Regions from separate parts of the Homo sapiens genome. Here regions 1, 2 and 4 are each linked to region 3. Evidence: promoter capture Hi-C in 16 types of primary human blood cells and fetal thymus (Javierre and others, 2016). All regions are on one chromosome and are shown on one strand. Each heading gives the region's core, a stretch centred on a gene start or on the middle of the fragment in contact. The rest is flanking DNA. Distances are from core to core; before and after follow the strand shown. Region 1 holds the start of SC5D (sterol-C5-desaturase). Region 2 has its middle 93 kb from the start of SC5D. Region 3 holds the start of ARHGEF12 (Rho guanine nucleotide exchange factor 12). Region 4 holds the start of NECTIN1 (nectin cell adhesion molecule 1).

Region 1 (2,805 bases), core at 189-2,688, 960 kb after region 3:
AATAGCTAAGGCATATTCAACAATAAAATTCTAGAGATTCAGGATATTTGATGTTTGCTTATAACATTTCACTTTTGAGCTTTTATTCGTTTAATAAATGTTTTATCATCTATGCTCAATAACATTTTAAAGTGTCCATTCAAATCATTTCATTGGGCAAAACAATGTTCCTTCCCTAATTTCCCTCATCAGAATAGCCATTTTGTCTCTGTGCTCAGCCTATACCACCAATTACTGTTTATTTCCTGTCCTTGTAATAAGCAACATAGTTATTTATACATGCCCATTTCTCCCACAGCACATAAGCTTTTTAAGGTTGGGAACCATGTCTTTGTCATTATTGTAACATCTCTTTCCATTCCCGGTGTTCAGTACGATGTGTTAAACGAAGTAGACACTCAAAACTTTTTAAAATTTATTTTTATTTATATAATGAGTCTTTTTTAAAAAAACCACCTACACTATTTTAAATTCATTTGAACTTTGTCCAGTATCCTATGTACATTTGAAGTTTAACTACCGGAAAAGTCTTTTGAAGGCAGATCGAATCATGTTATTTTTTTCCCTTAAAAATCCCTCATTTCTGTCATGTATTCCCCATATTATTTATGTAATAGGTAAAGTGGCCCAGTTTGCCACTTTGAAGTTGCTGAGCTGGTATCACAAGTCAGTCCCCTCTGTTTTAATCTCTGTTTAAGGAAAGTCACTCTGAAACGACAGATCTTTTGGTTCCTTATTTCTGCTTTCCTCCGTCCTCTTCTGCCTGTGAAGCCACCCTCCTCTGCTCAGCTCTGTTTCAGGAAATCGGAGCTGCTCGATTCATGTGTAGCAAATCAAAGCCAATTAGATCTGCGTTAACCTTGGTTTTCAACAACTTGTATCGTGAAAAGGTTTCTGTCCATGTTTACCCTCATCTTGTCACCATTTAGACCCCTACATACACCGGCTCGCGGAGCCTCCAGCCATTCAGCGCTAGAAAATCGGGGGGACTACGTCTTAAAACCTTGAGCACCTGTTTGGGAACATCTGCACCTCCTCCCTTGAGGGAGAAAACGACCCAGACATTCGCGTCAAAGGAAGTGTCGTCTATTTCCCTCAACGCAGGGCACCCGTTCTAGGAATGTTTGTATAAACACCGTAAACCTGCCTGGTACCACCATGAATGACACAAGAGCTAGTTTAAAAAGAAAGCAAAGAAACAAACGCAAAACCCGAAACCGCATCCTCCACCGCAAAGGTACTCGGATGGGGCGCCCGCCCTCCCCTTAGTCAGAGGACAAAGGGGGCGTGGCCGAGCGCGCGGCGCCCACGTGACCGCGGAGAGCTGCGCGCAGGCCCTTCGCGCGATCTGCCGTCATATCAGCTTATGGCGCCGGTCGCTGATTGGCTGGCCGCTCCAGCCTCCCGGCCCGCTTGCTGGCTGCCCAGCTGCTAGGACAGTTTGCAGAGCAGTGGCGTGCGGAGCGGCGGCGGACCACCTCCAGGTGGGGACGGTGGGTGGGCGGGGAAGGAAGCGGAATACACCTGAGCGGGCTGGGCCGGGGGGCGATGGAATAAAAGAAGATGGAGAGACTTCAGCGCCTGGGACTCGGGTGGGCGAGGCGGAAGGTGTCCTCGCAGCACGGCTTTTCTCCGCGCCGCGGTTGGTTAGCGAGTGCCCTCTGGGTGCTAGGCGTTGGGCGGATGGTAGGATCGCGGTAGCATACGGATCCGAGTCCTGCGCCGAGTGAGAGGAGAGGCTGGCAGGTAGCCTGGCATCCCGAAGACTGGCGGCGAGGGCTGGGCCGGGGGACCTCGGGGCCTGGAGGGCTGCGCCACCTGGGAGTCCGGGCGGAGGGGCCTTCCGCTCGCGCTGGGAGGGATCGCGGGGCCGATAGGGAGGCCTGGACTTGAAGGAGCCGACCGTGGACGGGCTTAAAGAAAATGCAGTGTTTGATGTTGGGTGTTGCAGATCTCTTACTCAAGGGAATTCTGGTCTGGCTGCTGAACACGAATGCTTTACTTTTCCCTTCGTTCTGGGAGGGTTTTTTTCTTTTAAAGGCCAGAAGAATCAGGCTGAAGAACTGGTCGGTATCAGAACTCCTGACCATTGCAAGCCTCTGTTGCTGCGGCGTAATTAGAATGAAGGGACAGCAATCTGGGGCTGAGGAGACTGAAAGGAAAAGGGAAATAATCTGTTCCTTTTGCATCATAAAAGGAAAAATAATGTATACTGACATCCCTGTGTTACAGCAGAGTAGATTTGGAGGTGGTGTAAGTGAAGAAAACAAGACCTCAGTACATAGAGTTTCCAAACTGGAAAGTTTGTGGCAGCTCGGTACTTTTAGAGGAAACCCTCTGGAAGTTATTTGTCTTTATATCACTATCATTTTTTAAAGTTTCTAATGATTGATACCTAGTAAATAATAACTGATCCTTGATCATTTACAGAGTGCTTTTCCATTCGTTATGTAATGTAATTAATTAGCATGGGGTGGTACTCAGAATCCCTCATCTGCATATAAAACATCTTGAGAGATAACATAACGTGGTAGCAAAGAGAAAGGTTGTGGAATGTACATCCCAGCTGGTTTTTTCTGTTATTGTTGCTTGCTACTGAACAAGTTATTTAAATACTCTGACCTCAGTTTCCCTATCTATAAAGTGGGGAGCATAGAAGTACCTATCTCATAGAGGTATAGGGATTAGATGAGGTTATACAAAAATAATACCTGGTTCTCAATAAATATTAGCTATCATTTTCTATACTTTTAAAGTAGGGCAAAAAGATAATGGTAGACTGAGTTGTTCTAAGCCTAATATTGT
Region 2 (2,948 bases), core at 47-2,546, 860 kb after region 3:
TTTGATGCCACTGCCTTTAAATAAACACATGATTTCATAAATGGAAAAAAAGCTAAACTGATTACCTTGAAAAATGAGTAAATAAATATTAGAGCAAATCCATAGATGTATTAGCTCGTTCTTGCACTGCTGTAAAGAACTACCTGAGACTGGGTAATTTATAAAGAGAAGGTGTCTAATTGGCTCACAGTTTAGCAGGCTGTACAGGAAGTATGGTTGGGAGGCCGCAGGAAACTTACAATTGTGGCAGAAGGCAAAGCAGGCATTTCTTCACATGGCCAGAGCAAGAGGAAGAGAGAGAGCGGGAGGTGCTACTCACTTTTAAACAACTAGATCTCATGAGAACTTACTATCATGAGAACAGCAAGGGGGAAATCTGCCCCTATGATCCAATCCCCTCCCACCAGGTCCCTCCTCCAACACTGGGGATTACAATTCCACATGAGATTTGGGCGGGGACACAGACCCAAACCACATCAATAGGATACTAAGAAACACCAGTAATTTCCCCCGAGGATGCTGCGAAACAAGTTCCTTGGCCATTCCTTTAGCTATAAAGTCCCAGTTATTAAGGACATTAAGGTTCCATTTTATTTTTGCATTTTTGTGTGTATGCGTGTGTGTGTAACTTAAAGCTTCAGGGTAAAAGTTGATGAATCTTAAAATTTTTAGTATTTAGCTCTAAAATTTTATTCTCCAAAACACATCAATATTTAGCAAAGGTTCTATTTTATTTTCCCAAAGTTAGATGGCACTAGAGTTTTGTTATTCAAAATCCATTCATCTCCATTTATTAGGCTTTCAGATTCTGAGAACTTCTTCGGCTTCCTCTGCCAGCTTGTCTACCTTTGTCATGATAATACTCAAAACTTGAGATTCAGAAAAGAAATTCTGACTTTTTAAATGAAAGAAATATGGACCTCTCAAACTGATCTCAAAGAAAAATGGGACCCAAGACTTTCATTAAACCACATGAAATAGAGCACTTGGCAAATGCTGGATAACAAAGTCCTCTGGGGGGAAAGAAAGAAAGAAAAAGAAAGAAAGAAAGAAAGAAAGAAAGAAAGAAAGAAAGAAAGAAAGAAAGAAAGAAAGAAAGAAAAGAAATTCTCATGAGTAAAAATCAGTGTTTTTACCTTTATGTTGTTGTTTGGGCAGAATTGATAAACTGAATCAAATTTCTCTTTAAAAGCAATTTAGAAAAGAATGAGTGTGCTGCTATATTCCTCTTATAAAAAGAAGTTTACTGTGGTAGGAAATGTAAATTCATGAGCCAAACACAAATTCCAAGAATGGCATCAACTTCAACCTGGGATTCTAGCTGTTCTTTGCTATAGTCGTAAAGTGTAAACTCAGTGGAAATTCTGAGCCTGATACATCTAGATTTAGAGCCTGTGTGTGGATTCCTAGGGGCCCTTTCTGAGGCAGCTCTCCTGCCTACTCCCCCTCTGTTTAATCAGCATTCGATGACTTCACGTGTCAGTCTGGCTCCTCTGGACTATGTCAGGATTTAGAAACAGTCAAAAAAAAAAAAAAAAAACACACACAAAAAAAACACCAAACCTGATTAGTTGACCCTAAAGATTAGAGTCTTTCAGTCAACTAAAGAATTAAGACTTTTATTTTAAAAGAACCTGTTATTGTTTATTTACCATACACTAAGCCCGGTGATGAGGGTTTAGCATCTATTATTTCCTTGAGTCCCCTTCAGTGACCTTAAAAAATGGTTATTTCCTGTTTTTATAAATGAAGAAACAGTGATTCAAAGAAGTTAAGTAACTTGCACAGGCCATTTTATTTGATTTCATAGAATTTTTGATGGAGTTGAAAGAATCACTGCAAGGGACCTTGTCTGGGCATCTCAGTAAACAAAATGTGAAATATAGTAGAATTTATGTTATGCAGCGTCACTGTCAGTTTGGAGGAGAGAGGTCCATCAAGCACACTATTGCCAGCAGAAGCTTATCATAGGGATTATCAAATTTCAAAAGAGCGCAGGCGTGGTGGCTCACACCTGTAATCCTAACACTTTGGGAGGCCAAGGCAGGAGGATCGATTGAGGCCAGGAGTTCAAGACCAGCCTGGGGAACACAGGGAGACTTCTATCTCTAAATAATCAAAATTAAGGCCGGGAGTGGTGGCTCACGCCTGTAGTCCCAGCACTTTGGGAGGCTGAGGCGGGCGGATCATGAGGTCAGGAGATGGAGACCATCCTGGCCAACATGGTGAAACCCTGACTCTACTAGAATACAAAAAAAAAAAATAGCTGGGTGTGGTGGCGCGCTCCTGTAGTCCCAGCTACTTGGGAGACTGAGGCAGGGGAATCGCTTGAACCCAAAAAGTGGAGGTTGCAGTGAGCCGAGATCGCACCACTGCACTCCAGCCTGGTGACAAAGCGAGACTCCATCTCAAAAAAAAAAAAAAATTAAAAATAAAAATTAGCTGAGCATGGTGGTCCATTTCTGTAGTCACAGCTATTTGCAGTGCTGAGGTGGGAGGATCACTTGAGCCTGAGGGAGTCGAGACTGCAGCAAGCTGTGATCGCAGCACTGTACTCCGGCCTAGGTGACAGAGAGACACTGTCTCAAAAAACAAAAAACAAACAAACAAACAAAAAAACAAAACAAAAAAAAACACTTTTTAAAAAGGAATGTTCGATTTTTAAAAAATTTATTTCATACTAAAATTTGACCAAACATGAGTTACTTTTACTCATAGCATACTAGTGCACTACACACATTCTGGAGTCTGACAGATCTGGGTTTGGATCCTGGTTTCACCGCTTACCAGTTGGATGTACTTGATTCATTCATTCATCAAATATTTATTGATTGCCTACCTAGTACGAGGTATTAGGTCTACAGTTGTAAATGAACCAGATGTAGTCCCTGCCCTCATAGAATTTGTGGTTTAGTAGGGCAGAGCATTAATAAACAAGTAAATATATC
Region 3 (2,902 bases), core at 254-2,753:
ATTCCTTCCGGTTGCATGTAAACACTCAATTTAAGAGTCTTCAGGGTAGAATTGTCATGCTAGAATACACCAGCAGGTGGCAATGTGTCCTGGTCTCATCATTAGGGAAGTGCCTTGGCTAATCTGCTTCTATTCTTTCCAAAAATAAACATTACAAAATTAGTTGGCTGTGCCTTGAACCTAAAAAATCGAGCAATAAAGAGTCGTCTCTGGTCTCTGTTTATCTTTTCCTTTTTTTCCCCCCCGTTCTAACTAACGTCAGCGTGAGCTCATGCCTCTATTCGGGGATAATGATCCTTTCATGAACTGTTGCGGAATGACTTTTTGCAACAGCATTGTTAAGAGGTAATTGTTTCCTCTCTCCACATCCACTGTTTATTAGATTTGATTTGCTACTTGGATTCCACAAAATGGCTGAAATCCCTTGTCACCAACATAGGTTTAAGCTCAAAAGTCTGAAAATAGTTGGATAAAGGGAATAGCCACTTTGGATGTTTGCAGGCAGAACTGAAGAACTGTATTACATGTGGTACCTAAATTGCCAAAATACTGAATTATTCAATCATAAAACTAGATGGGTATCTAAAGCTCTCTACCCAGTAGGGGAAAAAACCGAAAAACCGTTTGGGAATCCTTCAGAGAGAACCGTAATGCTATTTACTGGATAAATATACTTCATTTTCTTCTCCCAGTTCTTTCCACAACACGCTTGTTAAGTCGCCATGGAAAGCACCATGCTTTATCAATTTGGCAAATAACACATTTCATTTTGCCAAGGCAGAAACAGCCTAAAAGTAATATTTATACCGAGAAACCCTGGCTGCAGTCCCCAGCTGCTCTCCCGCAGCCCTGCGCCTCCGGCTCATGCAGCGCTCTCCCCCCGGAGCCGGCAGGTGCCCAGGTGAGCGGGGCCTGCGGAGGCAGCGAGGGGCGCCGGCCGGGAACCGGCAGAACGCGTGCAGCCAGAAGACAGGAGAGATAATACATTCCCTTAAGTAATAAAAGTTTCCAGGACAAGGGGGGCTGGTAATTTTCAAAGAGCCTCCCGGCACGATGTCCTCGGGATCTGGGGGGCGCTCTCGGGCGGTCTCTGGTGAAAGTCGACTTAGTACAAACTGGACTCGAAGGGGCATGTCTCGGCACTCAGGGGCCCAGGCGCCGCGGGAGGTGGGTGGGCCTCCCGGGGCTGCACGGGTCCCACCTCCCTCTGCCCCGTAGGACTACTTTGCCGCTCTCCCAAACCGGGCTCCGGCGGAGGCGTCCGTTCAAGGGCGAGAGCGCGGCCCTGAGCGGCGGAGGGATCCCGGGTGAGGCGGCTTCCCGAAGTCAGAGGGGAGGGGGCCATAAAGTCGGCGGGGGACGGGAAGCGCGAGCTCGCGCCGGACGCGGCCAGGGCCGGGAAACCAGAACCGGAACCGGAACCCGCGCGCGCGCCCGCGGTTGCGCGGCCCCCACGGCCGCCGGCCTCCTCCGCTGTCTGCGCGCGCGCCCGCGAGGGCCTCCAGAACCCGGCGAGCCGGCCCTGCGCCGGGAGACGCCGCCGCCTCCGCCTCCCGGACCAGGGCTTCCAGGCCGGGCCGGACGGGCATCTCCCGCCCCTCGCGGGGAGCGTCGGGGAGGAGCCGCCGCCTCTGGCGATTGCGGAAGAGTCCGGGCCTCAAAGGGATGGGGAGCAGTCCGCGGCGCTGAGAGACCCGGGTCCCTGTCACCTCGGGCCGCGGGACCTCTCCGCCGGCGCCAGCGGCTCGTCCCAGCACCGGGAGCCTGGTGAGGGCGGCGAGCACAGAAGGAGCCCCGGGCCCGGGACATGGAATCGCGCGAGCCCGGCGCGGGACGGCCGGAGACGCGGCCAACGCTGCGGCCACGAGCAGCCGGCAGCCCCAGATAGAGAGCCGGGAGGGAGGGCCCCGGCCCTTGCCGCGGCGGGGAGTTCGAGGCCCCGAGACTCCGGAGGAGGAGCCGACACCCGTCCGTGAGCTGATCCCGCCCCAGCCCCGGCGGGAGTCCCGGGTCCCCTTCCCACTGCGCGCGGATTTCCCTCTCTGAGGAAGTTTATCCTTGTGCCTTCTGGAGGATTTCTCTCTAGCTCGACTCACTCTGGACTGACTCGCTCCCTGGCTTTCTCAGTTCGTTTTGGGAGATAACTTGTTTTGCTCCAAGCCGCATCCGTTGACCCCTTACAGTCGGATGGTCTAGATGACTGAATGGAGTTTTGAGTTGGACTTTTGTGTCCCTGACGGAGTTGGGCCTGATCCCAGAGCACTGGGGGTGGGGAGGAGGTGTTACTGTAAAATGCAAGTTGGATAAAAGGAGGACCTCTCGCCAAGGGCCCCAATGAGTGGCACACAGTCTACTATCACCGACAGGTTGGTATGAATTCCTCCTTCGTTCGGCCTCCCGGAATCGGGCCCGACCTAGCAGGGGAGTCGGTGATTGCAGATTGCCTTTGGCCAGCGAAGTTGACAGGCAGAGGAAAGAGGGTTGTTTCGGAGCTGTGCAGTTAGCCTGGGGTTGCTGCCGAGTTATCCAGTTGATTGGCTTTTGGAAATGTAATTTTTCCGGAGAGAAACTTCCCTTCCGATTCTCAGAGAAGGGGGAGGCAAAACCATGATTGTGGTTTTCCGCCTGTAGTGTGCATTAGGATTGTGTACTCGTCTGGAAATCAGAGGAGAAGGTCATTTTAGGTGAAGGTCGGTGCCTGAAGTCGGCTCGGTATTGGTGTATTATTTATCAGCTTTAGCCGTGTCCTGCAGTAGATTCTCAAGACAATTACATTTTAGGAATTTCTACCTGTGAACTTAATGTTGAGCCTACTGCATGGTGATCTGGGAACTTGATCTCTTTCAGATGTTGACCTGCACGGTGTTTAATTATTATCTAATAACTTTCCAGAATGTTGACA
Region 4 (2,748 bases), core at 48-2,547, 610 kb before region 3:
CGCAGGTGAGCGAGGAGCCGCCTCTGCCGCAGCAGCCGACTCTCCGCGCCCGCTGTGGGGCGGTGTGGGGCGGGAGGGGGCCCGAGCGTCCTGAGCCGTCTGGCAAAGGGGCCGCCGAAAGAGACGAAGCCCCCCCGCCATACTCCAAACCCGCAGCTCCGAGACTGACGCCCTCCCCCTGGGGCTGTTGTCTCCCACCCCAAGACGGTGATTACGGTGATTATTTTGCATTTATGTAACACGCAGTGTTTCCAAACTGCTTCCCGAGCAGAGAGCTGGTTATTAAATAAACAGAACGCTATTACATATTATTATTTTTTGTAAAGAACTGAGCGGAGAAAGTGCTTTCATGCTACATAGAGACGTGCATCTGACTGCTTCCCTGCAGGGCAGGCGGTTCGGCTTCTCAACCTCTTTCTCCGCCGTGCCACCTCCCACCCCCTTTACCCAAGCCGTGACCCAACTTTTCTGGCTCCTTTCACTCCCCACAATCCAGTCGTGCCCGCCATCCGGCTCCCAGCCCCGGGGAGGCATTGGATGGGGGTGGGGACAGCAGAGGTGAGCGCTCTTACCTGGGAGGAAGAATGCGGTCAAGCCGAGAGCGAGTCCCCACCAGCGTCCAGCGGCGCCCGCAAGCCCCATCCGAGCCATCGGGGGCCGGGGGTCCGGCGAGAGGGGCGGCGAGGGCAGCGCTCCTCGCGCAGCAGAAACCAGCCCGGAAGATGAGGGAAGATCGCTGGCGGTCGGCGGGCGCTCGAAGGATCCAGGTCAGCTGCAGCCGTCGGCCGGGGCGGGGTGGGCTGGGTGGGATCCGCGCGGCCGCAGTCCGGGCCCCGGGCCGCCGCCGGCTCAGAGGCTCGGCAGATGCCCGCCGCAAGTTGCACGAGTCATGCCCCTTCGCCTCCTCCGCTCTCCTCCCGGCGCCGGTCCCCGCCCTCTTCTTCCACGCAGAGCGGGGCTGGGGAGAGGGACCCACCCCCGGCGCGCCCGGCTGCCCGGTTGCGCGGCGCGGGCTCCTGGCCCCGGCCCGCTCACACCCTCCCGCTCGGCTCCAACTTGCAGGCGTCCATGGCCGGCCGTCCTCCGAGGGTGGCGGGACGCACCCGGGCGGCGCAGAAGGCTCGGGGCCCAGGCGGCGGGCGCGGGGCTCGGCGGTCGGCGGCCCGGGTGGCTCTGGCTGCGCGGCCGGGCGCGAGGAGAACGGGTCGGAGGCGCCGCGCGTCCCAGCCGCCGCCGCTCTGCCGGGTGCCGGCGATCCGCAACAATGTGGAGCCGCGCTCGCTGCTCTCGCTCTCTTTCTCTCACTCGCCGAGCTCCAGCCTCTCACCCGCTCGCCCGTGATGTCAGCCAGAGGGGAGGGGTTAGCGTTAACCCCCTCCTGGCCTCGATGCGCGCCCGCCGGGGCCCGGTCGGAGCCCGAGCGCACGCGCCTTCCCGACCGAAGCAGAGGCGGATCGCGAGCGCGGGCTGCGGGGTCCGGCTCAGGACCCTCGCTCGGGAGCTACCCCTCGGCCGCCTTCCAGCTGGGGAGCCGGCTGGAGCGCGGGCTGCCCTCCTCCTCCGCTGACAAAGGCAGGCAGTGACCCCTAGCGGCCGGCGGCGCCGAGGCGCGGCGGGTGGGGGTGGAGTTAGGACCGGGCCGGGGGCGGCGGTGGAGGAGAGGGCGGGATGGAGAATCCCGGCTAGCAGCGTGGGAGCTGGCAGGGCTTCTGCAAGCCCTCTGCTCCCACCCTGGCCCCATTTCACAGACGAGGAAACAAAGGCCCAAAGAAGAGTTCCGCCCGGGACGGAACGTGGCATAGCTCGCAACAGAACCCAGTCTCCGGAGATCCCTCTCCTCTGCACCACTTGGACGTTCCACGGAGAGGCAGCGGTGCGCGGGGCGACGGGGAGCTGCCAGAGAAGTCAGTGGTGGGCATGAGTGGGTGAGACGGGCCCACTGAGGTTTCTGGTAGAGTTTCTTTTCTAATCCCTGCTCCCTTCGGGGGTTCCTTTTCCAAAAATTGAAGCACCCCGCGCCCCGCCCTTGCCCAAACATAGCCTGAAAACGAGCTCTCCTCCAGTTTCCAGGACCTTAGTTTTGAGAGATTTGTGGGATTCCCGCGAAAGTGGATCGTCCAGTCAGTGTCCCTGGCAGGGCAGGGACTCTCCGCCCCATCCCGTTCACCACCCACTACATCCGGGTGTGGTAGGATTTCTGCCAAGGCGACTGCGCCCTCCGGGCCTTCCCTCTTCCCCTTACTCTGGTCCTCCTATCCCCATCCCCTCCCCCTGGGGGAGGAAGACAGACAGAGTTTCCCACTAAGGAGAGCCGAATTCTCCCCAGACCCTGGCCGGACACTGCTCCCTCTACCCTTTGCCCAGCCCTCTAGGCGGGCAGGAGCAGAGGGGAAGTGGCTGTTTCTGATAACACGTAAATTCTGGTTCCTCACTGGAGAAGGGGCAAAGACAGCGCCATATTCCCACTGTCTGGAATCCGGCCCTGGAGTGTCTCGGTTTCTCGCGGAAGTAGTCAGATCTGGCATTGTCATGAACACTCACCCACTCACTGTATGGTCTTTTACATTTAACAAATGTAACCTGGGCTTTCTTTGTGTCAAAACACAGTGCCTGGCTTGGGGATACAGAGACATCATCATTGTCCTGAAGGAACTCAATCTAGTTGAAGGGTGGGGGAAGACAGACATAGAAACGGATGTCGTAAACAAATATTTAATATGGGATTGTGTGGGTTTGGTGGGTCACAGA

Evidence for each region. The method cuts DNA at HindIII sites, captures the fragments that hold promoters and counts their contacts. A CHiCAGO score of 5 or more calls a contact.
Region 1: a contact is called between the fragment with the promoter of SC5D here and the fragment with the promoter of ARHGEF12 in region 3, in 1 of 17 cell types (total B cells). The highest score is 5.9, in total B cells.
Region 2: a fragment that was not itself captured here is called in contact with the fragment with the promoter of ARHGEF12 in region 3 in 3 of 17 cell types (total B cells, total CD8 T cells and naive CD8 T cells); the score reaches 5.9 in total B cells.
Region 4: the fragment with the promoter of NECTIN1 here is called in contact with the fragment with the promoter of ARHGEF12 in region 3 in 4 of 17 cell types (naive CD8 T cells, total CD4 T cells, non-activated CD4 T cells and 1 more); the score reaches 8.8 in naive CD8 T cells.

What each region holds. Positions count from the first base shown.
Region 1 is chr11:121,291,333-121,294,137 of GRCh38, forward strand. It overlaps SC5D (sterol-C5-desaturase), which reads left to right and starts at 1,439. Exons shown (of 5, transcript NM_006918.5): 1 at 1,439-1,484. RefSeq lists an enhancer at 1,181-1,230 and a silencer at 1,401-1,450. The HindIII fragment of the contact is 7,130 bases long and covers 305-2,805 here.
Region 2 is chr11:121,198,291-121,201,238 of GRCh38, forward strand. No RefSeq gene overlaps it. Among named protein-coding and RNA genes, the nearest start is that of SC5D, 93 kb to the right of the region's middle. The HindIII fragment of the contact is 1,326 bases long and covers 634-1,959 here.
Region 3 is chr11:120,334,910-120,337,811 of GRCh38, forward strand. It overlaps ARHGEF12 (Rho guanine nucleotide exchange factor 12), which reads left to right and starts at 1,504. Exons shown (of 41, transcript NM_015313.3): 1 at 1,504-2,366. The coding sequence starts at 2,335. RefSeq lists a silencer at 1,091-1,960. The HindIII fragment of the contact is 6,393 bases long and covers 1-2,902 here.
Region 4 is chr11:119,727,903-119,730,650 of GRCh38, forward strand. It overlaps NECTIN1 (nectin cell adhesion molecule 1), which reads right to left and starts at 1,298. Exons shown (of 6, transcript NM_002855.5): 1 at 573-1,298. The coding sequence starts at 651. NECTIN1-DT (NECTIN1 divergent transcript) reads left to right here and starts at 1,681. Exons shown (of 4, transcript NR_120587.1): 1 at 1,681-1,904. RefSeq lists enhancers at 622-1,483, 1,484-2,344 and silencers at 894-1,213, 1,274-1,683. The HindIII fragment of the contact is 12,809 bases long and covers 1-2,748 here.